7 separate regions of the Homo sapiens genome follow, and regions 1, 2, 3, 4, 5 and 6 are each linked to region 7. Evidence: promoter capture Hi-C in 16 types of primary human blood cells and fetal thymus (Javierre and others, 2016). All regions are on one chromosome and are shown on one strand. Each heading gives the region's core, a stretch centred on a gene start or on the middle of the fragment in contact. The rest is flanking DNA. Distances are from core to core; before and after follow the strand shown. Region 1 overlaps FMNL2 (formin like 2). Region 2 overlaps FMNL2 (formin like 2). Region 3 overlaps FMNL2 (formin like 2). Region 4 overlaps FMNL2 (formin like 2). Region 5 overlaps STAM2 (signal transducing adaptor molecule 2). Region 6 overlaps FMNL2 (formin like 2). Region 7 holds the start of FMNL2 (formin like 2).

Region 1 (3,257 bases), core at 329-2,828, 200 kb after region 7:
TTAAGTCTGCCTGCCTGTGTCTAGTAGAAAAGGCTATGTTGTAGCATAGCTGATGAATTCTGTTTGCTGTGACTTACCTAATTAATTTACTACACCCCTGTCACAGCCCGTCACTTAGTTCTTTTCACAATGGTCTAGTTTCCCACCTTGGGTTGCAGTAGACTTGGTCATTAAGTGGAGTCCAATAAGTGTTTTGTTTTTTCCTTGTCTGCAAGGCAGGTATGTGTATAGGCAGCCTAACGTTCCAGGCAACCAGTAGGGAAAGAGGAAGCTAACATACGCCTTAGGGGATTGGGTTAATGAGGAAACGTATGGTTATGAAAGGCATTAGACGGCTTTAGATCTACGAGAGACACAGCTGCGGCTCATCAGCAAATGTTCTTTGGCTCTGACGTGAGCTTGACTAACTTATGTCTACTGAACCTGCTGGGGTACATCCTGTAGAGTGTGCTTATAGTCTCTTTGTTTACTTTTACATTTAAAAGTTACCCTTAATTTATGAAAGAAGTGACTTGTATGTGACATTTTTAAAAAGTTTAATTCTTTGAACATTGTTGAAGATCAACTGTGTGCCAAGTATTCTTTTACATACTGGGACTCAATGAAGAATAGAACATGTTTCCACCCTTTAAAAAATGTTTATACTATTAAATTCAAGATGAGCATGCTTATTATAGTGTAGTAAAATGAACAAGCATCAGAAAAAGTCAGAAAACTGTGTTTGAACAACAGAAACATTGGGAAAATACATCAGAGACCTTACACATACACACACACACACACAGTATATGATTTCAGGTAAGTCATTTAATCTTTAAGCCTCAGTTCCCTCATCTGCAAAATGGAGATAATATCTACTTGCCAGATATAGAAGCTTGAGTGAGCTAAGAGGTCTAAAGAATGTGATAAACTGTGAAGTATCACTGAAAGATAAGTTAAAAATCAGAGAAACAAAAAGTACTGCCCCACATGAAAAGTTAATTGTATTTGAAATATCTCACTAAAAGATATTTGAAGAATCATCTACATGATGGATTGCACGTAGCTGCTAAAGGCAAGGAGTTACGAATTACATTACTTCTAAATTAACCAGTTCAGGGAAGAGGAAGAGGAGGATTAAAATTCATTATCTGGAATATTTTATATGAGGTTTTTTTTTTTTGTTTGTTTGTTTTTTGAGATGGAGACTCTGTCGCCCAGACTGGACTGCAGTGGCATGATCTCAGTTCACTGCAAGCCCCACCTCCTGGGTTCAAGTAATCCTCCTGTCTCAGCCTCCCAAGTAGCTGGGATTACAGGCACGCGCCACCACGCCTGACTAATTTTTGTATTTTTAGTAGAGGTGGGGTTTCACCACGTTGGCCAGGCTGGTCTCAATCTCCTGACCACAGGTGATCCACCTGCCTCAGCCTCCCAAAGTGCTGGGATTACAGGCGTGAGCCACTGCACCCAGCTGTATTTTTATGAGTTCTTAAATAAAACTCATATAAAACTTTCATGGGAACCATGAAAGAAGGAGAGAGGGAGAGGGAGAAGAGAAAAGAAAACTCGGCCTACATCCAGGGACCCAAATAAAAGTGTTATGGAGGAAGAATACAAAGCCCCAACTGTTTTTGTAAAACTTGGGGTTGCCTGTCTAATATCTAAAGGAACCACTGTTTGAGTTATAAATTCAGCACCTGATTTGCCAAACCTTTTCTCTCTGTTTCAATGTGGCCAATTTGAACAACAGAAACATTGGGAAAATACATAAGAAAATTTCAGCACCTTGCCAAACACATTTATTTTGAAGGACTTCAGATGGATTATGGGCATCCTATTTATTTGAATTAATATATTTTTCCCTCTAAATATTAGAATTTTAGATATTGTATTAAAAGTCGAAACTGCTTTGGTTGGCAGTCTTCCATTACCCACACTTTTAAAACTGCTTCATATCCCATGTTATTTTCAGGACCTCGTTGCCTGCTTGCTTGACATCAATGATATAAGTACCTTTATTAAGTTACCAACTTGAGTTGCACTGTGTAGAAATGTTATTCTTTAGTCATGATGAGCTATCAAAATGAATTGAAAAGGCACCTCCAAAGTCTTGGTGATCTTGCTCCTTTTGATAGTTACCACCCCTCCATTGAGATTCCCAGCTTTTCTGTTCATTTTGATCCTCTTGCAAAAAGCACTCAAAATTGGCAGCTTCCATGACTCCATCTTCTAGAGGGTGGGTGGAATCAAGAGTGAACTTCAGAACCTTCTTTTTCTGTCTTCCTTCTCCCCATTTGCCACAAGCTTTTTCACGGGTTCCATGGCAGCAGTGGAGGTAGAAAGAGGAGATGGGCAGACTATGCCAAGGCAAATGGCCCCACCTGAGTTTTCTTAGAAGTGGATGCAATGTGGACCAACTGTGTTTTAAAGCATGAGGCTTCCTTATTTTCTCTTTCTTAATACATCAGTAAGCTGCTCAAACAAATGAAGAATATGTGGAATACAACGACAAATGCTAAATAAGCATATTTGAAAAAGTGTGAGTTTATTACATGTAGACCTTGTTCATAATTTCAAGTCCTAAGGAAATATAGTCCAGTCAACAGGACCAGCAAATGTATGTATTTGAGTAAGCCTTCTGAGTCGCCACAGTCCCAAATAGGAAATGAAAAAAAGCTGCCTTTACTGACTGTCAAAGATAGGGCTCACTAAATGAGTGAATGCTACTGCGTTACATGTGCTACTCCACCAAATTTTATTATTGTAAAAATAAAATTGAGCCCAGGAGTTCAATACCAGCCTGGGCAACATGGTGAGACCTTGTCTTTAGAAAATTAGCTGGGCGTGGTTGCCTGCACCTATAGATCCAACTTCTTAGGAGGTGGAATTAGGAGGATTGCTTGAACCTGGGAAGTCGAGGCTGCAGTGAGCTGTGATTGTGCCACTGCATTCCAGCCTGGGTGACAGAGTGAGACTCTCTCAAAAAAATTTTTTTTGAATAATTGGAATTATATTATTTAAAAGGATAATATTTATTTATATTCTGATATGTGTTTGGCATCAGCTGTTGTCATACATGAGGTTGGAAATAATGACTGGCTTCTAGATAGCTCATCAGTTCATTTTTCTGAGCTTCTTGTGATTATTTTAGCCCTCAGCTGGACTACTGCTAAATCCCCATGGCAATAGGATCCCCTCTGATTCCTTGGTGAGGTGATGGTGATTTAAAAAAAGTAGTTTATACACAGACACAGTGATGGCACTAGAGATGTTGA
Region 2 (3,281 bases), core at 549-3,048, 180 kb after region 7:
TTGAGAGTGGAAAGAAAGGAACAATTTTACAGAAATAATACTCTTGGATGATCTAATTTATTTTAGCTAGGAACTTGTACAATCTAGAAAAACAATAATTAACATCCACTGAACTTTTCAATTCAAATATCATATGTCTTCCATCGACCTTTGGCGATACTTGCAGGCAGTTACTTGGTGATTAAGTTGTCTCAGATGCCTACAGTGCGGACATTCTGGTATATGGTTAAAGCCCAGGAAATATGTTGGATGGAACAATGGATGAAAAGAATGAAAGGAGAGCCCTATGTCACAGATGTCACTAAGAGTGGGTGAGGTAGAGTTGTCACCGTGTTAGGAAGACTCGGAAATTGATTGATATTTTCAGCCAAATAGATGAGCAGTCCATTTTTATAAAGGCAGCAAAGGGACCTGGAGATAGAGCCAATATTTTCCTCACACAGTAACTTGGACTCATGAATTACCTGCTCAAACATTTAGCTTGGACTCCAGAGTCTTGCCCTGAACAGCACAAGAGGAATGAGTTCACTCGAAAGAAGTTTAAAGGCAGTTATTACCAGCTAATCACAACATCCCTGAACTTTAACCAGACCTCTGTAGAGTGTCTGATTTTAAATAGAACTGCTTCCTCATGGTCCTTATGGAATTATTAAGCTGTACAATGTATGTCTGAGTAGCTCAGAGGCTTGGCTCATGGAAGGGGTTATTTTAGATGCTTGGTGAATGATTACCCAGTGGAGCTTTAGTTTGGATGTATTGATGTTGCACTGCTACTTCTGACAATAACTAATCATGCTCAAAAAGACTTCTTAAGTCTCTTCTTGTTCAGAGATTCAGACCTTTCTTTTGACCTCCAGAATCATGTATCTACCTGCCCACTTGAGTGCTCTCTTGGTTATCTCATAGCTATCTCAGGCCTAAACAGGGTCATTTATAAATCTTATTCTTCACCAACTCCTCCAGATTTATTTTGCCTTTTGTTACGTGCCCCTCTTATTAACTGTACCCCATTCACTTAGTGACTCAAGCTGGAAACAAGGTACAAATCCTCCCCAGCCCTTAAGTCTAACCAGTCAGTTTCACTTAATATTTCTGACATTTGTCCACCTTTCTTCATTCAACGTGCCATCGACCCCATCTAAGCTGCCATCATTCACTTGAACTGCTTAGTCCTGGCCTCCTACTGGCTCTCTGCTTTTGCTGTTTCTAATCTGTTCTCCTCATAGCACCTATTGTTATCTTTGAAAAACAACGTCATTATGTTATTTATCTGCTTAAAAGCCTTCAATGGCTTCCCGTGGCACTTCAGATAAAATATATTGACCCTGGTCTGCATGTCTAGGCATGATATGGCTTTGACTCACATTTCCAACTTCATCTTTTTCTCATTCCTTCTCTTTTACTTTCTCTCTGGCTGTTCTGACTTTTTTCAGCTCCTTAAATGTGGAAAGCTAATTCCTGCCTTTGAGGCTTCCCTTGTTCACTGTGCCCAGTGTGCTTTCGTCCGCCCTCTGCCTGGCCAATCCTTCTCATTTATTGGGACTCATTTGTTACTTTTTCCTGAGAGGTTTTTCCAGACTGTCTAATCTAAGACTACCCTCTGATAACCTTTCTCAAGCCTTACCAGAGTTTAAAAAGCTTTGTTTGTTTCATATGTGTCTCCCCACCATAACACAGTGCTCTCTGGGCATCGCGTCTGTTTGGATTCCCACCGTGCCACCCAGCATGTTGCACAGGGCTTGTACAGGGGCAGTGCTCCATAAACATTTGTTGAACGAAAGACTCTTTAATCAAAATAAGAGTTAGTCTGGAAGGGGCATCTTGCCTTTCTCTTTGCAGAAAACGACAGAGCCTGTGTGTAATTCCTGTGGCGATGTTTGCCAAGTGCTTCCACGGGAATGTCTAGTAGAGTACTAATAGAAGGTCATAAGCTATTGCCGTTTTGCTCTCCTGCAAAAAAAGCTTGGTGGCATATTCAGAATTTATCCTTGGGAGCCTAACAGACTAAGTTTAGGTCCTGTCTTTGTTCCTGTAAAGCTGTGCAACCTTGAGCAAGTTAACCAAATTCTCCCGGGTCTATTTCCCTATGTTAAATGGAGAAGATTATGTCTATCCCACATGCTTATTATGAGTATTAACTGAGATTACATATGCAAAGTGTTGAATGGAGTACTTGGCACCTTGTAGGAGTTCAGGCATTCTTTTTCTTATTCCCTTTATATCTCGAGATTAGTGAGGACTCAAGAGGAAAAGAACTCATTTAATTTATAATCTTATTGTTCTTACTTAATGCATAATTATAGCTGGGGTGCTAACATGAAGGTCAACACCAGTTTAAGAGGAAAACCTCCTTCTCTGGAGTGCAAATAAGCAATGATGGACTGACCATTTACCAGTAAATAACATTAGACTTCCTCAGAAAGATACACATGAAATTCTCCTTTGCCTTATCCCAGGAGTTTTTTTTTAACATTGTCAAATTGTAATAACTAATAATTACAAATAGACTTTTTCCATTGTAGTTCAAGTAGATATTCCATGAAGACAGGCCATATGAAAACATTTTCCCATATTAGATGTTTCTATATCTAAGAAGCTTTGGCAGTACCATTGAAAACTCTTTATAAAGTCCAAAGCTCTTCAAAGTAATTGTCAGCTTTGAGGGGGGGTGATTAAAATATTAAATATTTTAGGCCAGGCATGGTGGCTCACGCCTGTAATCCCCGCACTTTGGGAGGCCGAGGCGGGCGGATCATCCAGGGGTCAGGAGTTCAAGACCAGCCTGGCCAACATGGTGAAACCCCGTCTCTATTAAGAATACAAAAATTAGCCAGACATGGTGGCAAGCTCCTGTAATCCCAGCTACTTAGGAGGCTGAGGCAGGACAATTGCTTGAACCCAGGAAGCGGAGGTTGCAGTGAGCCGAGATCGTGCTATTGTACTACAGCCTGGGCAACAGGAGTGAAACCCCATCTCAAAAAAAAAAAAAAATTAAATTAAATATTTTAAAGACAGGTTATTGTAAAATCTGATGGATTAGACTCAAATAGGTGGCAGATATACTTAAGGCATACCAATCTAGATGTTAGATTGAGTTTAAGGGAAAATGCTTGGTTTAATTTATCATAATCAGTGGTTGATTTTCTATCATTAAGTCAGGACAGCATACTCACCTTTGCCTCTGTTAAACTTGTTTCACCCTATAACACAAGACAATAACCATGACCAGGGGAATTGTTTCTCCCTAAGCCAAGTCCTTCAGAGAGCTAGGAGCTTGAGTA
Region 3 (3,238 bases), core at 586-3,085, 240 kb after region 7:
TGACTTCACTATGAGTGGAAAGCTATTGAATGGTTATAACGACATAATCTGACACTTGCATTTAACATGAGACCATGCTGGCTTCTGTGTTTAGGTTTGATCTTGGCCAGGCAAAGGCAAGAGGGGGTAGACCATTTAGGAGGCTTTTAGCAGTAATTTAGGTGAGCTTTGGTGGTCATATGGACTAGGATCATAGGAGTGGAGATGATGAGAGGTGGTCAGATTCTGGTTTTATTTTGATGTTAAAGGCCACAGCATTGGATATGAGGGAGAAGGTGAGTAGTAGAGGGTGGCACCAGGGCTTTTGTCTTGGGCACCTGTGAGATATATTTGCTATCTACAAAGATGGGAAGACTGCAGGATAGATGGATTTGAGGGAGATCATTAGGAATTCTGTTTCGGGGATTTTAACTTTGAGATTCCCCTTAGACATTCAAATGGTGATCTTAGGTGCATGGTTGGATATGCCAGTCTGGATTTCAAGGCAGTGGTCTAGGCTGGAGTTAGACATTTGAGAGTAATTAGCATATAAATGGCATAGGAAGCCAGGAAGGTGAATGAGATCAGTAGGGGTAGACTGAGAAGTAAAGAAGTCCAAAATATGAACTCTAGGGCTCTCTGTTTAAATGTCAGAGAGACGAAGAAAAGCTGGCTAGAGAGCCTGAAAAATAGCCAAGTAGGAGCCAAGTGAAGGACATATTTCAAGGAGAAGGGAGTATTCAGCTCTGTTAGATGCTGCTAAGTCAAGTAAGATGTGGAGTGAGGATTGGCCATTGGCTTCAGCAAAGTGCAGGTCTTTGGTGATCTTGGCAAGAACAGTTCATTGGGATGGTGGGGGTGAAATGCTTGATTGGAGTGGTTTCAAGAATGAGCAGGAAGTGAGGATTTATACTGAGTGTCTGGAGGAGTTTTGCTGTAAAGGATAGCAGAGAAATGAGAGGCAGTGGCTGAACACAGGTTGTGGTATCAAGAGAGGTTTTTATTGTTACTTAAGATAATTTGCATTTTTTATGCTAATGGCAATGAGTCTATGGAGAGGGAAAAATAAGGGGGAAGGGAGGAATTTCTGGAACATATGATGTTCGTGAGCAGATGCGAGGGAATGGGATGGAGGAAGGACTCATGGGAGGGGTTGGCCTTAGTTTGGAGCACAGAAGAGTTCCTCTTTAATAGGAGGTGAGGAGGTAAGCCACAAATCTGTGTGGATAGATTGATGTGGTATAGGAACTTCTGGATGTTTTCTCTGATGAGCTGAGAGTGAGTTTTGAGGAGAAAGAATATAGTTGACCCTTGAATTTTGTGGGGTGTGAGGGGTACTGATCCCTGGTGTAGTCAAAAATCTGTATATAACTGGAGACCTCACCAGTAGCATAAAGTCTGTTAACACACATTTTGTATGTTATATCTATTGTATACTGTGGAGTCACCCTGGAAGCTTAAAAACTCAGGTGCCAGGTCCCTGTAATTGAGATTCGGAGTAAATGTTTTGTTTAGTCTTCCAGGGGAGTTTAAGGAGCGGCCAAGGTTAATAATCACTGGGCTAGAGCCTTTTTATCATTTTAATAAAGAGAAACATGTAGTTCATTTGTAAAGAATGGGAAGATAATCTTTTGATAATAGCATCATTGCCGATTTTTTTTTTTTTTTTTTTGAGAGATGTGGGTCTTGTTGTCCTGGACTCAAGCTGTACCCCCCGCCTCAGCCTCCTGAGTAGCTGGGACTGGAGGCACAAATCATTGCATCTGGCATTCTTGAAATTTTTAATAGAGAAATATGCTCTGACAGTGATATACTAGAGACATAAGTGCATTTATAATGGTGTAAGTTTCATTAGGTAGATACTTCGGGTTTTTGGTTTTAAATCAATACTGACAGTTCCCTAACTTGTCTCCCAATGCTTTGTGTTTCTTTTTTTTTCCATGTTAATTTTAGTATGGTTTCAACATGGTCATGTCTCATCCACACGCTGTCAATGAGATTGCACTAAGCCTGAACAACAAGAATCCCAGGTAAGCTGCTTTTGTAGTACGCAAGTCTAAATCTATCTAGAGAAAACAGAGGGCTAGTCAACACTTAACCAAGTTTGACTTTGGAAACTTTCAAGTGTTAATCTCTGAAATAAGATTGGCTATAAACTCTTTGGCTGTGTAAGAATTTTTCCTTTTAGCCAAGTTACATTCTTAGATGGGCCAGAGTTGAGCAACTGGTGACAATTCTAGCCCTTCACTGTTCTCCTCAAGCTTTTGTTCTTTTGAGGCCTGGTTTCCAGCATCCTTGCTGCTAAATTTGGAGAGGATCAGGTTGCCAGGACTCGGGGGCCAGGAGAGTCTTGATAAAGATTTACGTATATCAGTTATTGCTGGAAGCTAGCTAAAACCACCATCCTTCGTCTACACTTCGCTTGATAACTTTACATATGTAGCTTTAATTACTGAACGAAAATAGAAAAATAATTGTAGTGGCCAGCCGCAGTGGCTCATGCCTGTAATCTCAGCACTTTGGGAGGCCGAGGCAGGCAGATCACCTGAGGTCAGGAGTTGCGACCAGCCTGGCTAACATGGTGAAACCCCATCTCTACTAAAAATACAAAAAATTAGCCAGACATGGTGGCACATGCCTGTAATCCCAGCTACTCAGGAGGCTGAGGCAGGAGAATGGCTTGAACCCAGGAAGTGGAGGTTGCAGTGAGCCGAGATCGCACCGCTGCACTCCGGCCTGGGTGACAGGGCAAGACTCTGTCTCAAAAAATAAAGAAAGAAAGAAATAGAAAAATAAAATTGTATATGCAGATTTCCTTTCATATTCACCACCTTGTAAAGGCTAGCAGCAGATATAATTCACATCACACGTTAGTCGTAAAAGCCAGTCTTCATCAATTGTAGTTATTTTAATGTGCTTTCCATTTTGGTGAAGTATTCTGTACTTCAAATGTGCAATTCCTTTTCATCCAATACCTCTCTGTAGACAAAATATCTGAAAACTGTTAATTCAAAAATCTGTTTATAAATTAGCCATTTCTGATTTGGAAAATGCAACACGAACTATCAAGTCCTCTTTACTGAATATTATTCTTTCAAACTTCCCCTGATTAAACCTTTTGCGACTGTGCGATTCCTTCCTTCGTTTACTAGAGTCCTAAGTAGCCATGCTTCTGTGTCTCTGCCTTCTACTACAGGGAAGACATTATTTTTTAAAAGACAATTGACATTGTGGAGTATCAGAACAGTTTTTGTTTAGA
Region 4 (3,389 bases), core at 699-3,198, 170 kb after region 7:
CACCAAGAGAGCAGGAGGGTGAGAACTAAATCATCCTCTGAAATACACTTAGATTAAGAAATCAGTCTGATGTTCATTTCACAACATTCATCAGAAAGAAAAACAGGACTGATCCCAGGCAAAATTTATTGGTGGGAAAAATGTCGTGTTCTATCTCCTCCTCCTCTCTGCTTAGCCCCCCAGCACCTGATTAATTAAAACTCTGCCATCTACCGGCTCAGAACGTTTTTCTTAGAAGCACCTGAGATTCGTTCAGCTAAAGAATCAACAGCTGTCAACCGCAGCAAATAGATCCCCTACCCTCTACCATATCCCAGTATCCTAACAATGCCTTAAAATGAGCATCAAGCCGGGTGCGATGGCTCACGCCTGTAATCCTAGCACTTGGAGGTCGAGGTCGGTGGATCACCTGAGGTCAGGAGTTCTAGACCAGCCTGGCCAACATGGCGAAACCCTGTTTCTACTAAAAATACAAAAATTAGCTGGGTGTGGTGGCGGGTGCCTGTAATTCTAGCTACTCGGGAGACTGAGGCAGGGGAATCACTTGAACCCCAGCGAGGCAGAGGTTGCAGTGAGCCGAGATCACACCACTTCACTCCAGCCTGGGTAAAACAAACAAAAAAACCAGGCATCAAAACTCGGATGTCTACAGGAGTCAGTTAGGTCTCTTAAATTTGTAAAATCTGCCTGGATTTGACACAAAAGGGAGTGGTGGAACCTTGGCAAGCCTGTGAGTTAAGTCCCTGACCGAGGCAGGCGCCACTCGGCTTTAGCCCATACTGGCAAGGCAGGCCGGTGCTGTGAGGGCTTCCAAATTTTCATGAGAAGATGAAAATTTTGATTCTTCTATGAAATCTTTCACATTTTTCATGACGGTTTTAAAAGTTTTACAGGCAGTAAAAACAATTCTTTGTGCCCTTATGCCCTGAAATCAAACCCTGTGGGCCAGTAATTCCCAAATAGAGTCCTCAACCTAATATGCTTTCCTTAAAGCTAAATGTATTTAAGGATTATCTCTTTATTTTGATATTTTTATCCTTGCTATATTGTTGATGTAAGAATGTAATTGCTTTTCTAAAGTGACTCGGGGATAGGGTTAGCTTTTACCTGCATTCAGTTGAACTTGAAGGATGACCTTCCCAAAAGGGAACTCAGAAAATGTATCTGACTCTTCTAAAAGACATGTAACTTAAAAGCATAATTCTTTATGAGCTGATATTGAGAGCTCCCAATGGGTTGATGGAAATGCTAATGAAGGCTCTATTCAATTGTTAAGTTTATCTTCAATGAGCAGCCAGTACAGAGGCTCCAAACCAAACTAGCCAGCTTGCCCTGATGCTGGAAAGCAAAATCCCCCAGGATGTCCACGGTTTTGGGTGAGAGGGTCTCAGGAATATTTACACAGAAGGGAGCAAAGAGCCTGATTGTGTTCCTGGCTTTAACAAGTAAAGATATTCTGTTTCCATCTGTGTAAATTTGCGTGACTTTTTTTTTTTTAATTTTGAGTAATTAATTGCCAAGACTCCATTTAGAAGGAAGACGATGATGAGAATGAATCTTGTGAAAGTCCATACTGTACTGTTTCTCTAATGGGGTCCTGTGAACCCCCTGCGATTTACATATTGGCAGAAGGTCCAGTGTACACTTTGAATGTGATCCAAACGTTCTAGTTCATTTAAATTTCATAAGTTATAGTTTCCGGAAGGAGAAACTGTAACTGCATGGTAGCAAGTATGGAAAGGAACCTAGTTTTCACTGTTATGCCCTGTCATTTAACAGTAGCTTTGAGTAGTTTTTAAATCAAAAACAAGAAAATGTTGATGCCTTAACTTTTTAACCCCTTGTTCTTCGTGCGAGTCTATAGGGTAAGTTCTTCTTGTGGAAAACACTTGGGTTATTTTGGGCGAGGTGGCGCTAACAGAGTTTTGCTTGAGGATGTGCTTATCTGATTCTCTCTTCCCATTCAAATATAGGATTGATTGTTTTCATCCTTGGAGCACCCACTAGGTACAACCCTGTTGGAAACCTTAATGGTGAAAGCAGCGTCTATTCATTGAATTCTTTTTAATGTGTCAGAAACTGTGCTTTGTGAAACACAGGTTATAACATTTATTTTTCACAATGGTCTATGAGAGAAGAATATAAGAGGGATGGTCTCCAAGATAGGAAAAAATACCGCCTTTGGGCCGGGCGTGGTGGCTCATGCCTGTAATTCCAGCACTTTGGGAGGCCAAGGTGGGTGGATCACCTGAGGTCAGGAGTCTGAGACCAGCCTGGCCAAAATGGTGAAACCATGTCTCTACTAAAAATACAAAAATTAGCCAGGTGTGATGGCAGGCATCTGTAGTGTCAGCTACTCAGGAGGCTGAGGCACGAGAATTGCTTGAACCTGGGAGGCAGAGATTGCAGTGAGTCAAGGTCGTGCCACTGCACTCCAGCCTGGGCAACAGAGCAAGACTCCGACTCAAAAAAACCCAGAAAACCCAAAAACAACAAAATAAGTACCATCTTTATTTCATTGTGCGGAGAGTGGGAGAGGAAGGTACAGAAGTATGGTGGGTTTGCGAGTTTAGTAGCAGGAAAGGGAGCGAGTTCTTGTATAAGGGGGTTTATTTCCTTCATGACATACAAGGGGTGAGGCTATATTGAGAGAAGGGGGTAAGGAGAGGGTATGGAGGTTGGAGGTTGGAAGAGATTGTAAATGGTTGACCAGAAGAAGGTAGATGTTCCCTGGGCAGTGTTGAGGGTAGATGTTTTCCGGGCAAGTGATAGTTGGTGCTCTGTGGTTGACTGATCTTCCTGTTGCATGGCACTCTCTGCAGTCTCAGGTGCTTCTGTATCAGGAGGGACAAAATGGTATTAAAGAGGAATTACTCATGACACTCGTTCAAGATGGTAAGGCAGACTTTATTTAGTACCATCACGATAGGCGTAGGGACCACTGCAGTGGGATTTTTGCAGTGAGGGAGAGAGATTGAGCTCAATTCTGAACAGAGCATGGACAAATAGGAATTTATAGCCAAGGAGTGGAGTGGAGGTCAGTGGATGGAAAATTACTAGGAGGAAACATCAGGGCTATAGGAGTGAAGTAGGGGAAGAAAGGGAGAGAATTCTGGTTAAAGTGATCCTGACCTATTATAGGATTCTTGTTGAAGGCAGGCCAGGGTGATCAGATACCATCTGGGGAATGGGAGAGGATGAGGAACCCAATTAATTAGTGGGGGTGATTAGACATAGAGGGTGGGGAATTCTGGATAAACTGACTTAGAGTTCTTGCCAAAACCAGATTTTATAAGGAAGTGTATACACGGATGTAGGAGAATGTAAAGGAGCCTGACTAAAGTTTGGTCAAGCAAAAAATCTATATCACTGGTCAGTGAGTTTGTCTA
Region 5 (3,457 bases), core at 278-2,777, 160 kb before region 7:
TTTTGTTTTGTTCGGGAGACAGGATCTGGCTCTGTCACCCAGGCTGGAGTGCAGTGATGCAATCATGGCTCACTGCAGCCTCAACCTCCCTAGCTCAAGCCATCCTCCCACCTCCATCTCCCGAGTAGCTCGGACTACAGGTGCGCGCCACCATGCTCAGCTAATTTTTGTATTTTTTGTAGAGATGGGGTTTCATCATGTTGCCCTGACTGATCTCGAACTCCTGAGATCAAGCAATCCACCAAGTGTTTGGATTGCAGGTGTGAGTCACTGCACCCTGCCATCAATTTTTAAAAAGTAACCCAACAGAATAATAAAAGTAATGAGCAGGCAATTTATAGAAAAAGAAAACAGAATGATGAAGAAACATATGAAAAAATGCTCATCTTCACTGGCAATGAAGTAGAAATAGAAAATGAAATGAAAACAATGTCTTACTTCATATTCATCAGATAGGCATAAATTAGAAAATCTGACAATGCTCAGCATTAGTGAGGATGTGGAACAACAGGAATTTCACTGCTGACAGGAGGGAAATCAACAAACACTTGGAAGGGCAACTTTGCAAGAGCTACACTTTTTTTTTTTTTTTGAGATGGAGTCTCACTCTGTTGCCCCAGCTGGAGTGCAGTGGCACAATCTCCGCCTCCCAGGTTCAAGTGATTCTTCTACCTCAGCCTCCCGAGTAGCTGAGATGACAGGCATTCACCACCACACTCAGCTAAGTTTTGTATTTTCAGTAGAGACACGTTTCATCATGTTGGCCAGGCTGGTCTCAAACTCCTGACCTCAGAAGATTTGTCCACCTCAGCCTCCCAAAGTGCTGGGATTACAGGCATGAGCCACCACACCAGGCCAAGAGCTACACTTCTACTGAAGAATTCCCCTTCAAGACGACAACCTTTAAGAATTTTGCACTCCACTGGGCACAGTGGCTCATATCTGTAATCCCAGCACTTTGGGAGGCCAAGACGGGCGGATCACGAGGTCAGGAGTTCGAGACCAGCCTGGCCAACATGTGAAACCCCGTCTCTACTAAAAATACAAAAAAAAATTACCTGGGCATGGTAGCAGGCGTCTGTAATCCCAGCTACTTGGGAGGCTGAGGCAGGAAAATCATTTGAACCTGGGAGATGGAGGTTGCAGCGAGCTGAGATCGCGCCACTGCACTCCAGCCTGGGTGACAGGGCAAGACTCCGTCTCAAAAAAAAAAAAAAAAGAATCTTGCACCCATAAACACAAGAAAACATAGATAAAAACTTTCAATACAGAGCTGTCTGTAGGTGCAAGAAATTGAAAACAAAGTCATGTTCGTCAATAGGACAACAGATAATGCATATTCATATAGTAGTATAGTATCACGCAGCCATTAAAATTTATAACCTAGAGCTACAAACATCAACATGAATAACTCTCACGAAGAAATGCTGAATGGGCCAGGCACGGTGGCTCACGCCTGTAATCCCAGCACTTTGGGAGGCCAAGGCAGGCAGATCACCTAAGGTCAGGAGTTCGAAACTGGCATGGCCAACATGGCGAAATCCCATCTCTGCTAAAAAATGCAAAATTAGCCGAGCATGGTGGTGCGCACCTGTAACCCCAGCTACTCGGGAGGCTGAGGCACAAGAATTGCTTGAACCTGGGAAGCAGAGGTTGCAGTGAGCTGAGATTACACCACTGCACTCCAGCCTGGGCGACAGAGCAAGACTCCGTCTCAAAAAAGAAGAAATGCTGGATGACAAAAGTTGCAGAATGACAAAAAGACACCATTTTTAAGAAGTTTAAAAACATCCAAACAATATATAGTATATTTGTAAGTGTAGTATTATACTATTAAAGAGAATTTCTATCTATTTATAGAGTGTTTAACTCGGAGAAAGGAGGAAGAATGGGATCAGGTAGCTGCTAAAAATACTAAAGTATTTCACTGCATCTTGAATGTTCCTTTCTTAAAAAAAAAGAATCAAGTATATCAAAATATTAGCACTTGACATAATTGCCTGGCAGGAATGGGAGTTCATATTTTCTATTTTATGCTGAAAATATTTCATAGTTTAAAAAGCTACAAAATATATTAGAAAAAAAACTGGCTGTTAAGTCTACTATTCTTATTCAAAACCAAAAAACTTTTTAAAAAAATTTTTACTTTTACAAAGATTTTAACTTATTGTACAAAGAGTGGCCTAGTTAAGTAAATGTTATAAATTTGTGTGTATGTTATGAATTTATATTATTCTTATGCTATCAATATCTATTTTTATATTGGGATTTCTTATAAAATTTCACTGGAGAAAAGGACTGCATGACTGCATTTCACTGGAGAAAGTCCCAAGCTACTTCCTGGTCAACTTCTTCTAACACAGCAAAAGTCAGAAACACAGCAATACACACATTAAAATGTCACTTGGAAATGTATTCTCTTAAAAGCTAACAATTCAAACCACTGCGTCCACAGAGTTTTGTAGAGGTAGAATTTGAGCTCAGCTTTGTGGGACACAAGCGTATCTTTAAAGGAAATACCAAGGTTGAAAAGAGCAAACATTTAGCAATGAATGGTAAATAGCACAGAGGCAGAAAACTGGCAAGAAAGATTGCCTGGCTTGAGTAAAGGGAAAAAAGATATGCAAACAAGAACCGGAGTTAAGGCTTAGAACAGACAAGTCATGACTTGGAAATCAATGAATAAGGAAATGACATCTTCTCTGTTAACACTAACCACTGTGGCCCCGTCCCCCATGTTTCACTTTCCCCTTGGAATTCTACAAGAATGGCTACTCCAACCAGGCTCTACCTCAAGATCCCTGTACCCCTCTAACACTTGAGGCCCAGCTGGGGAGAAGAGGTGGGACCTAAGGATATTTTCTTTTTTCCCCTCAGAACACATCAAAGAAATCTTATTAAACAAAACAAAAAAATGAATCTAGATAAAATGTTTAAAGAGTTCTAACACTACCAAATCTAGTATATCCTTCAGGGCTTGTAGGTTCTGATGCCAAGAAAAGACAGGAATTTGCCAGAGTTCCCTACTTCCTAGCCTTTGGCCTGCTTCCATTTGACAAGTCACATATCATCATCAATTCATGAGTGCCTTCCTAAGACATCTTGACCCATCCTTTTCTCAGCCCCTGAGAAAAGGATTCCTTCCTCATATGACTGTCAGAAAGACTGCTCACCCTCCTGCAAGACTCTTCACCTACCAAAAGAGATTAATCTTTAAAGGCCTTTAATCATAAAATGACCATATCATACATTAGCAAAAGGTGGTTACTTCCTGTTGGGAAAGTGCTATCAGAGAAGGGGGGGAGGAGGCTGGGCACAGTGGCTCACGCCTGTAATCTCAACACTTTGGGAGGCCGAGGCGGGCAGATCACTTGAGGGCAGGAGTTCAAGACCAGCCTGGCCAACATGGTGAAACCTCCATCTCTATTAAAAATACAAAAAATTAGCCAGGTGTGGT
Region 6 (3,081 bases), core at 141-2,640, 220 kb after region 7:
ACAGGTTTTCCAGAATTCTAGTTTTTGTTTGAAAGCTCAAAGTTGGTCATCAGCAACAAATACTGTGTTGTCCTTGAAAGGATGGGCTCACTTCATATTTGAGTAAATGTCTGCCACATACCCCAAACTGAATCACCATAGTTTGTCAGTTATTTTTACAAGTAAATTGACATTCCATGAAAAAATGGCTAGTTCAGCTCGCAACTCAAACAATTTCACAGGTGCTTTTCCTTGAGACAACTGTGCTACTTGAGCAGGTAGCAGAAGTACTTTATGTGAGCTTCCTGTTTTGTCACACTGAAAATGAAAAAGATGTGTACTAAATGAGTAAGCTTTAATAAAATCAATATTTTTTATTGCTTATCTAAGGGCGTTCTTAAGTGAAGCTGGCCTTTTCCCCCTCCTGAGTGCACGGAGTGACAAATACAATAAATAAGTGTCTTCTTTGGTTGCAGCAGTTTTATACAGTATTTCTTTGGCATTGTAAGTGTCAGTGTCAACAGATTGAAAACAACTAATGTCCTAATATTTTTGTGAAAACAGTTTTACCTTCACAGGCGCCCTGAGAGGGTTTCAGGGACCCCTAGTGGTATATGGGCTATACTTTGAGAATCAGTTTGCAACACTGCCTAACAGAGTAGATCTGATGACCAGTGTTGAATCCACACAGTGCTTCTTTCTCTTGCTTTTCATGATTTTTCATCAACTTCAGTTCCCAACATATGTCTGTAGGACCTCTCTCTAGAGGAGGCTGGCAAAAGGAATTAACTGCTTTTTCCTTTCTGTTGTGCAACTTTGGGCTACTTGGCTTGATCTTAGAAATTGAAAGCCAGGAACATCTCTTAAGACCTATATGAGGAGAAATAAGGTTCTAAGATTTGGGGAGACAGAACAAAGATTTGATATTAAGCTGTGACCAGCCTACAATAAAACAGTGACTGTTGGCATTGGCACTTACATCTCTTCCTTGCACCCAATTTCTTCCAGAGCTATTTGTCATTGTCCCTGTCTTTTCCAGCTCCTAAGCATCTGATTTAGAATTTGCCTAAATTCAGATGTACAGCATATGGTAATTACATTGAATCCGTGAGGCACTCAGGAAGTTATGCGTTCTGTCAGAGTCAGAAATAATTCAACTTTCCAAAACCTATAATCACCCAATTTGAAACTGTTTGCCTATTGGCAACATATTAAAAAGTGTGTGTAGCATGCACAGAGGTGAAATGGAACTAATTTGCTATGGGAACCCTGAATATATGATATAGTCCTTGCATGATCATTTACATAAATCTGCAAAATGAGGCATCCATATTCTTTGAATGCCTTTAGATTCCAGTTACTGCTTTGAAAGTTGCCCGTTTTTATCTTTACCTGTTTTCTTTCCTTACTCTTATATTTCTGTAGAAGTTCACTTTCAACTCCAATTGAAAATGGCCAGTTCTCTCCAATACAGAAAGTTCCAAGTCAAGAAGGGGTAGGGACTGAGATAATAGTTAGAAAAATGGGGGCTCTTTTTTCATGTCATCCATACCCTTATTGCTGAAATGACTTTGCTAAGCTAACCTGATACCATTTGATAAAGTGGGGAAGGTAGCCAGCCCTGAAAGACTGATCTCATTCTTTCCTAAAGCAGCTGGGGGTGTCAGGACTAGATCAAATCCCAGGGAGGATCTTGTAGCTTTGAAAAAGATGTTAACTGCATGAAATTAAATCAGGGGTAAAACATGTCACACTTTAGCTGACCTTTTAGGAGGTAGGCAGCAGGCTGTTACCTTTTACTCAGAAAATTGTCTTTGAGGCCCTTTCACTCAAAGTCAGGAAGTGGTGATGGGGGCATGGATAAGGACTCTGAAGTGAAGTAAGAGGAGCCAATGAGTATTCTTTATCCCTGCATTAAAACGTATGCATATTAGCATGTTAAGCGAATTGTAACTCTGGCTGTACTTGGCTATTTCCTACCTTAAAAAAATTTAGTTTTTCTTCTGTAGGTCACTTGCCTCTTGTCCAATTGGTGGCTGAACTTTCCAAGTGAGATGGAGGTGCCTGCCAGTAGTTGACACAAGGGCAGGCACTGAGTGCATTCTGAATGGTCTGCACTCTACAGAGGCTGCATCTGGAAAATCAACCAGAAGAAACGACAATGGCTGTTTCTCTTAGCTCCTAAATTAGTGTGTTCTTATGGGCCACTGAGAATATGTACAACTGAGACTGCCCTGAAAAATCTGCCCCCCTCCCCCCGCCGTGATTATTTTTCATATTAAAAAGACACCCACCACCGAGGGCCAGTTTAAATTGTACAATCACAGCCCATAGGCCACCAATGGAAAAGCCTAAGCAAGGCTAAGGGGCTTGAATTTAAAGATTTTCTAATCATCAGATTTTGATATTGAGTTCCAGACTTTAAGTCTCCAGCCAGTTACAAAAAAGAAAAAATTCTTTTTACTATTTCTAAGCTTCTAATTACTAGTATTTAAACGTGATCAGTGTCTCCTGAGACCTAGCACCACAGAAAGTACTTAAAATAAATAAAAAATAAGTATCTAGTAGGTGCTGTGAGATTGTGTATGTGGCTGTTTTGAAATGAAACTTCAGCCTCCACCAGTAGCCAGCCCTGTTAGTTTTGTCTAGGTCTCATAACAAAGCCACTTTGTGAGGCCTACCAGGTGGTATTTTCTTTGCCACCGTTGCCACTCCAGGTCTCTCTTAAATTAAATGTTATATGTTTACAGGCAGCTATGCCAAGTGCATAGGTTTTGCAGTTGCCTCTCTGAGGCGCTTGAGGGGAAAACACAAGGCAATCTTTCCACTTTCCCACTTTGCCGCCTCCTGGAACTACCTGCAGACCTGGGCTGGGTTTGCATCATGGAGATGACAGGACTAGAAGAAAGAATGACCTTGAGGATGAAACAAAGAACCCCTTCCCCCTGCCAAAAATTAAAACAAACAAACAAAAAACCAAATATCCTGATTCCATGGGATTGTTTTCTGCCTTTTAAGACAAAGACCTCAAGGGGTTGCTCATGCTTAAGGGATACTTGGTAGAATTGTCCTACTGTTATTTTAATAACTAACAAAACTGGC
Region 7 (3,370 bases), core at 792-3,291:
TCTTTCCTTTCCCTCCATGCCGTCTCCCCGCAAAGAATTTCCTAAGATTTTGATGGATTCTTATAGAAATTGTACAAGCCTATGGAGTGTTTATTTCTCCTCTTAATAATCACAAATAACAACCAAATATTAGAGATTCCAAACATTGAAATGGCAGGAAAGTTCTTTTGGTTCATAGATTTGCACACTTTTTCCTTGGCTTCCCTCGAAGTGTGAGCTTATGAGAGAGACTAGATGTGATAAGACGTAAGGGGAGAAAAAGGTCTTGGTTACTGGCAGAAATATAGCCGCAGGGAGACATAAATGTAATCAAAAAGGCTTTCTCAACTGCAGAAAAGAATTCCAGCCTTTTTTATCCAGATGGGCAACCCTCTGGGTGGGCTGATTTTGTGAGTCAATCAGATCCAAAGTATATGTCTAGAGATTACAAGGAAATAAATACATTTGTGGGTCAGAAATGTTTCACCTGGTCCGAACTGCTTTCTTTCTCTCTCATTTTCATTAGTTTGGAGTGTGTGTGTATCTAAACCGCCCTGCTTTTCTCTCAGATCAGTAACACATTTGCTATTAACTTTGATACAACACTGCTTTAGAAATACAGGTTACAGTTATTCAGAATTTTAAGTTGAATTTATTTATACTGTCTCCATTCTTTAAAGACTAGAAGTGGTTTAATAGAACATACATGATGTATTTGTGTGTATTTGTGTCATATGCTTTTGGAAAAAGTCACTTGTCAATTCCACAAATAGTTCTTGGGCGTCTACTATGTTTAAAGTATCTTGAAGTTTATAAAGATGAATGAAATGTCCTTGATTGAATCTTGGTGTACTACCTTGTCCAGAAACACTTGCTATTTACTAAAAGGATAACAACCTTACCTGCATATCAAAATCACCTGGGGAGCTTGTTGAAAATACACCGGCCCAGGCTTCGGCTCTCAGCTTAGGGAGATTCTGATAATACGCAGAGCCCAAGGTGTGTGTAGTTTTAACAAAAAGCTTCCCAAGCGAATCTGATACACATCTAGGATTAAGAAACACTGCTTTAAACTAAGAAAGGACTAACTGCAGAAGTTCAGCCACAAGTCAACCAGATGTATGCCCTTAACATTCACATGAGCAGTTGGCTAAAGTCTCTTATAAGGCTATTTCTATTTCCGAGGTTTCAGAACGGGTAGTTATAGTCTGAAATACACCCCAGAGGACAGAGTCAGGTCCAATCTTTTCTGTAAGACACCTTGCTCAAGACTGCTGTGAAGGAATAAGAGAGCTGCAGCCAAAGATCATCCCAAAGTCTCCCAGAACACTCTATCATTATATCCATCTCACATGAAATATGGGTGTGTACATTTTTTCCTTCACTAGATTGGCAAGTATTCCAGCGCAGGGCAAATCTCTTTTTTCTCCCACCAAGGAACACAATATCCCATACATAATAGGTGTTTGACAGGTTTTTTTTTTAAATTGAATTGAATCCTTACCTAGCTCCTAGGGTCTGACTATATATACCCATAAATTATACATCTGTTTATAAAACATTTCAATCACACCAAAGAACATATATATGGAAGAAAGAACGATAAACAAGCACCCATGGACCCACCCCCCCGTTTATGAAACAGAACTTTGCCAGTGCTTTCGAAGTTCCTTACTGAACTAGATCTTTTAAAAACAGCAACGATTTTCTGAATTTTAATCAGAAGGCATGCATTCCTTCATTCATTGATTCGATTCCGTCATGGTCAGACCCGCCTACCAAGTGTCAACATGATATACACGATGTAAGTATTCCACTGTTGGGGTGAGGAGGGTCAAAAGTGACAATATGCTATCTCCAGAGACTACGGATCGCCTTTGCTGCAAATGGTCCCAACCCGGCCTGGCGCTCTAGAGCAGGCGTGGTTTCTGCGCGCGGACACTTTGGAGAGAAACTACGCGTCCCGGCAGTCCGCGGGGCGAGTGGGCGGAGCCGGGCCGGGGGCGGGGGCCGGGCGCCGGGCGAGAGGTGGCATTGTGTAGGGGAGCGCGGAGCTGCATTTGTCTGCTCCAGGTGCTAGCCAGGCAGGCGCAGCCGTGGCCGGCTAGGGCTGGAAGTGTCAGCGGCGGCCGCGGGCCCGGCAGAAGGCCGAGTAGGAGGGACCACGCGCCGGGGGCCGCGATCTCTGGCAGGGGGCGGTGTGCCAGCGGAGCACCATGCACATAGGCGCCCAGCGCCCCAACTACCCCTCCCGAGGAAAAGAGGCCGGGGCCGCGCTGGGGCGGCGGAGAGCATGAGGGAGGCCGGGGGGCGGCTCGGCTTGGAGCGCTGCTAGGGAGCGGTGCGCGCCGCACACCCGCCTGGGCGCGGCGGAGGGCGGGGAGCCGGGCAGGTCGCGCCTGCGGGCGGCAGCCGACCGCCGGGAGCTGTTCTGATTTCCGACGCGCACGCTAGGGGCCCGGAGCAGCCCCCGGCCCCGGCGCGCCGCCGACATGGGCAACGCAGGGAGCATGGATTCGCAGCAGACCGATTTCAGGGCGCACAACGTGCCTTTGAAGCTGCCGATGCCAGAGCCAGGTGAACTGGAGGAGCGATTTGCCATCGTGCTGGTAAGTGCGCGGCGGCGGTCGGGCGCGGGGACCCGGGGCCCCGGGCCGGGCGGCGCAGCTGACCCCCGCCCCTCCCCTTCACCCCGTGCCGGGAGCGAGCCTCCATTCCCGAGGGGGAGGCTCCCGCTTTCCCCTTTGTGGCCCCCCAGCACTCCTCTTCACCCCCCTGGCAGTCCCCCGCGCTCAGTCTCTCGGGGTCCCGGGATGGGGATGGGGGCTCAGGGCCGGCTGCCCAACCAGCCTCGAACCCATTGTCTGGCTGGAGAGGCACCTCACGGCGCGTGTGCCCGGGAGGTGCGGCGTGGGCGTGAAGAGAAGGTGGCGCGGGCTGGGAGGAGGAGGTGGCGAGCCGCTTAGGCTTTTTTTTTAAAAAAAACAAAACAAAACAAAACAAAACAAAACACCCTGAGCCCCTGCGGACCATCCCTCGGGCGGCCAGCCCGGGACCTGCGAAGTCCCCGGCAGATGGGGCGCATGTGGCCGGCCGCGGGCGCCGCGCCGGGCGGTGAGCGGAGGCGAACTTGGAGGGCTCACGTCGCGGCTTGGCCAAGGGGAGCTTCCCCGAAAGGGAAAGCGGAGACCCACAGCAGTGCGGCGCCCCGGCCCTTGGCGAGGAGCAGGGGCATCTGAAACCCAGGCCGGGGAGAACCTCAGCGCGTTCCCTCTAGACTTAAATCTTAAACCACAAAAATGTGGAGTTTTGCGGGGACGTGTTGCGAGCTGTCCTGACTGCACGGGCGACCCCTCCCCTCCTCTTGCACGCCCAGCCAGGTCCCCCGCTC

What was found. The method cuts DNA at HindIII sites, captures the fragments that hold promoters and counts their contacts. A CHiCAGO score of 5 or more calls a contact.
Region 1: a contact is called between a fragment that was not itself captured here and the fragment with the promoter of FMNL2 in region 7, in 5 of 17 cell types (monocytes, M2 macrophages, M1 macrophages and 2 more). The highest score is 12.3, in monocytes.
Region 2: a fragment that was not itself captured here is called in contact with the fragment with the promoter of FMNL2 in region 7 in 3 of 17 cell types (M0 macrophages, M2 macrophages and M1 macrophages); the score reaches 7.5 in M0 macrophages.
Region 3: a contact is called between a fragment that was not itself captured here and the fragment with the promoter of FMNL2 in region 7, in 5 of 17 cell types (M0 macrophages, M2 macrophages, M1 macrophages and 2 more). The highest score is 13.2, in M0 macrophages.
Region 4: a contact is called between a fragment that was not itself captured here and the fragment with the promoter of FMNL2 in region 7, in 5 of 17 cell types (M1 macrophages, M0 macrophages, M2 macrophages and 2 more). The highest score is 12.2, in M1 macrophages.
Region 5: a contact is called between a fragment that was not itself captured here and the fragment with the promoter of FMNL2 in region 7, in 3 of 17 cell types (M1 macrophages, M2 macrophages and M0 macrophages). The highest score is 6.9, in M1 macrophages.
Region 6: a contact is called between a fragment that was not itself captured here and the fragment with the promoter of FMNL2 in region 7, in 5 of 17 cell types (M2 macrophages, M0 macrophages, M1 macrophages and 2 more). The highest score is 15.8, in M2 macrophages.

Annotation. Positions count from the first base shown.
Region 1 is chr2:152,537,125-152,540,381 of GRCh38, forward strand. The region is part of intron 2 of FMNL2 (formin like 2); the gene reads left to right. Among named protein-coding and RNA genes, the nearest start is that of PRPF40A, 180 kb to the right of the region's middle. The HindIII fragment of the contact is 1,412 bases long and covers 873-2,284 here.
Region 2 is chr2:152,517,620-152,520,900 of GRCh38, forward strand. All of the region lies in intron 1 of FMNL2 (formin like 2), which reads left to right. Among named protein-coding and RNA genes, the nearest start is that of FMNL2, 180 kb to the left of the region's middle. The HindIII fragment of the contact is 324 bases long and covers 1,637-1,960 here.
Region 3 is chr2:152,576,956-152,580,193 of GRCh38, forward strand. FMNL2 (formin like 2) reads left to right here. Exons shown (of 26, transcript NM_052905.4): 8 at 1,933-2,009. Among named protein-coding and RNA genes, the nearest start is that of PRPF40A, 140 kb to the right of the region's middle. The HindIII fragment of the contact is 805 bases long and covers 1,434-2,238 here.
Region 4 is chr2:152,500,221-152,503,609 of GRCh38, forward strand. All of the region lies in intron 1 of FMNL2 (formin like 2), which reads left to right. Among named protein-coding and RNA genes, the nearest start is that of FMNL2, 170 kb to the left of the region's middle. RefSeq lists an enhancer at 972-1,547. The HindIII fragment of the contact is 5,004 bases long and covers 1-3,389 here.
Region 5 is chr2:152,169,280-152,172,736 of GRCh38, forward strand. All of the region lies in intron 1 of STAM2 (signal transducing adaptor molecule 2), which reads right to left. Among named protein-coding and RNA genes, the nearest start is that of STAM2, 4.8 kb to the right of the region's middle. The HindIII fragment of the contact is 4,391 bases long and covers 1-3,457 here.
Region 6 is chr2:152,554,652-152,557,732 of GRCh38, forward strand. The region is part of intron 4 of FMNL2 (formin like 2); the gene reads left to right. Among named protein-coding and RNA genes, the nearest start is that of PRPF40A, 160 kb to the right of the region's middle. The HindIII fragment of the contact is 2,121 bases long and covers 331-2,451 here.
Region 7 is chr2:152,333,133-152,336,502 of GRCh38, forward strand. FMNL2 (formin like 2) reads left to right here and starts at 2,042. Exons shown (of 26, transcript NM_052905.4): 1 at 2,042-2,588. The coding sequence starts at 2,472. RefSeq lists silencers at 1,842-2,491, 3,002-3,101. The HindIII fragment of the contact is 3,556 bases long and covers 1,000-3,370 here.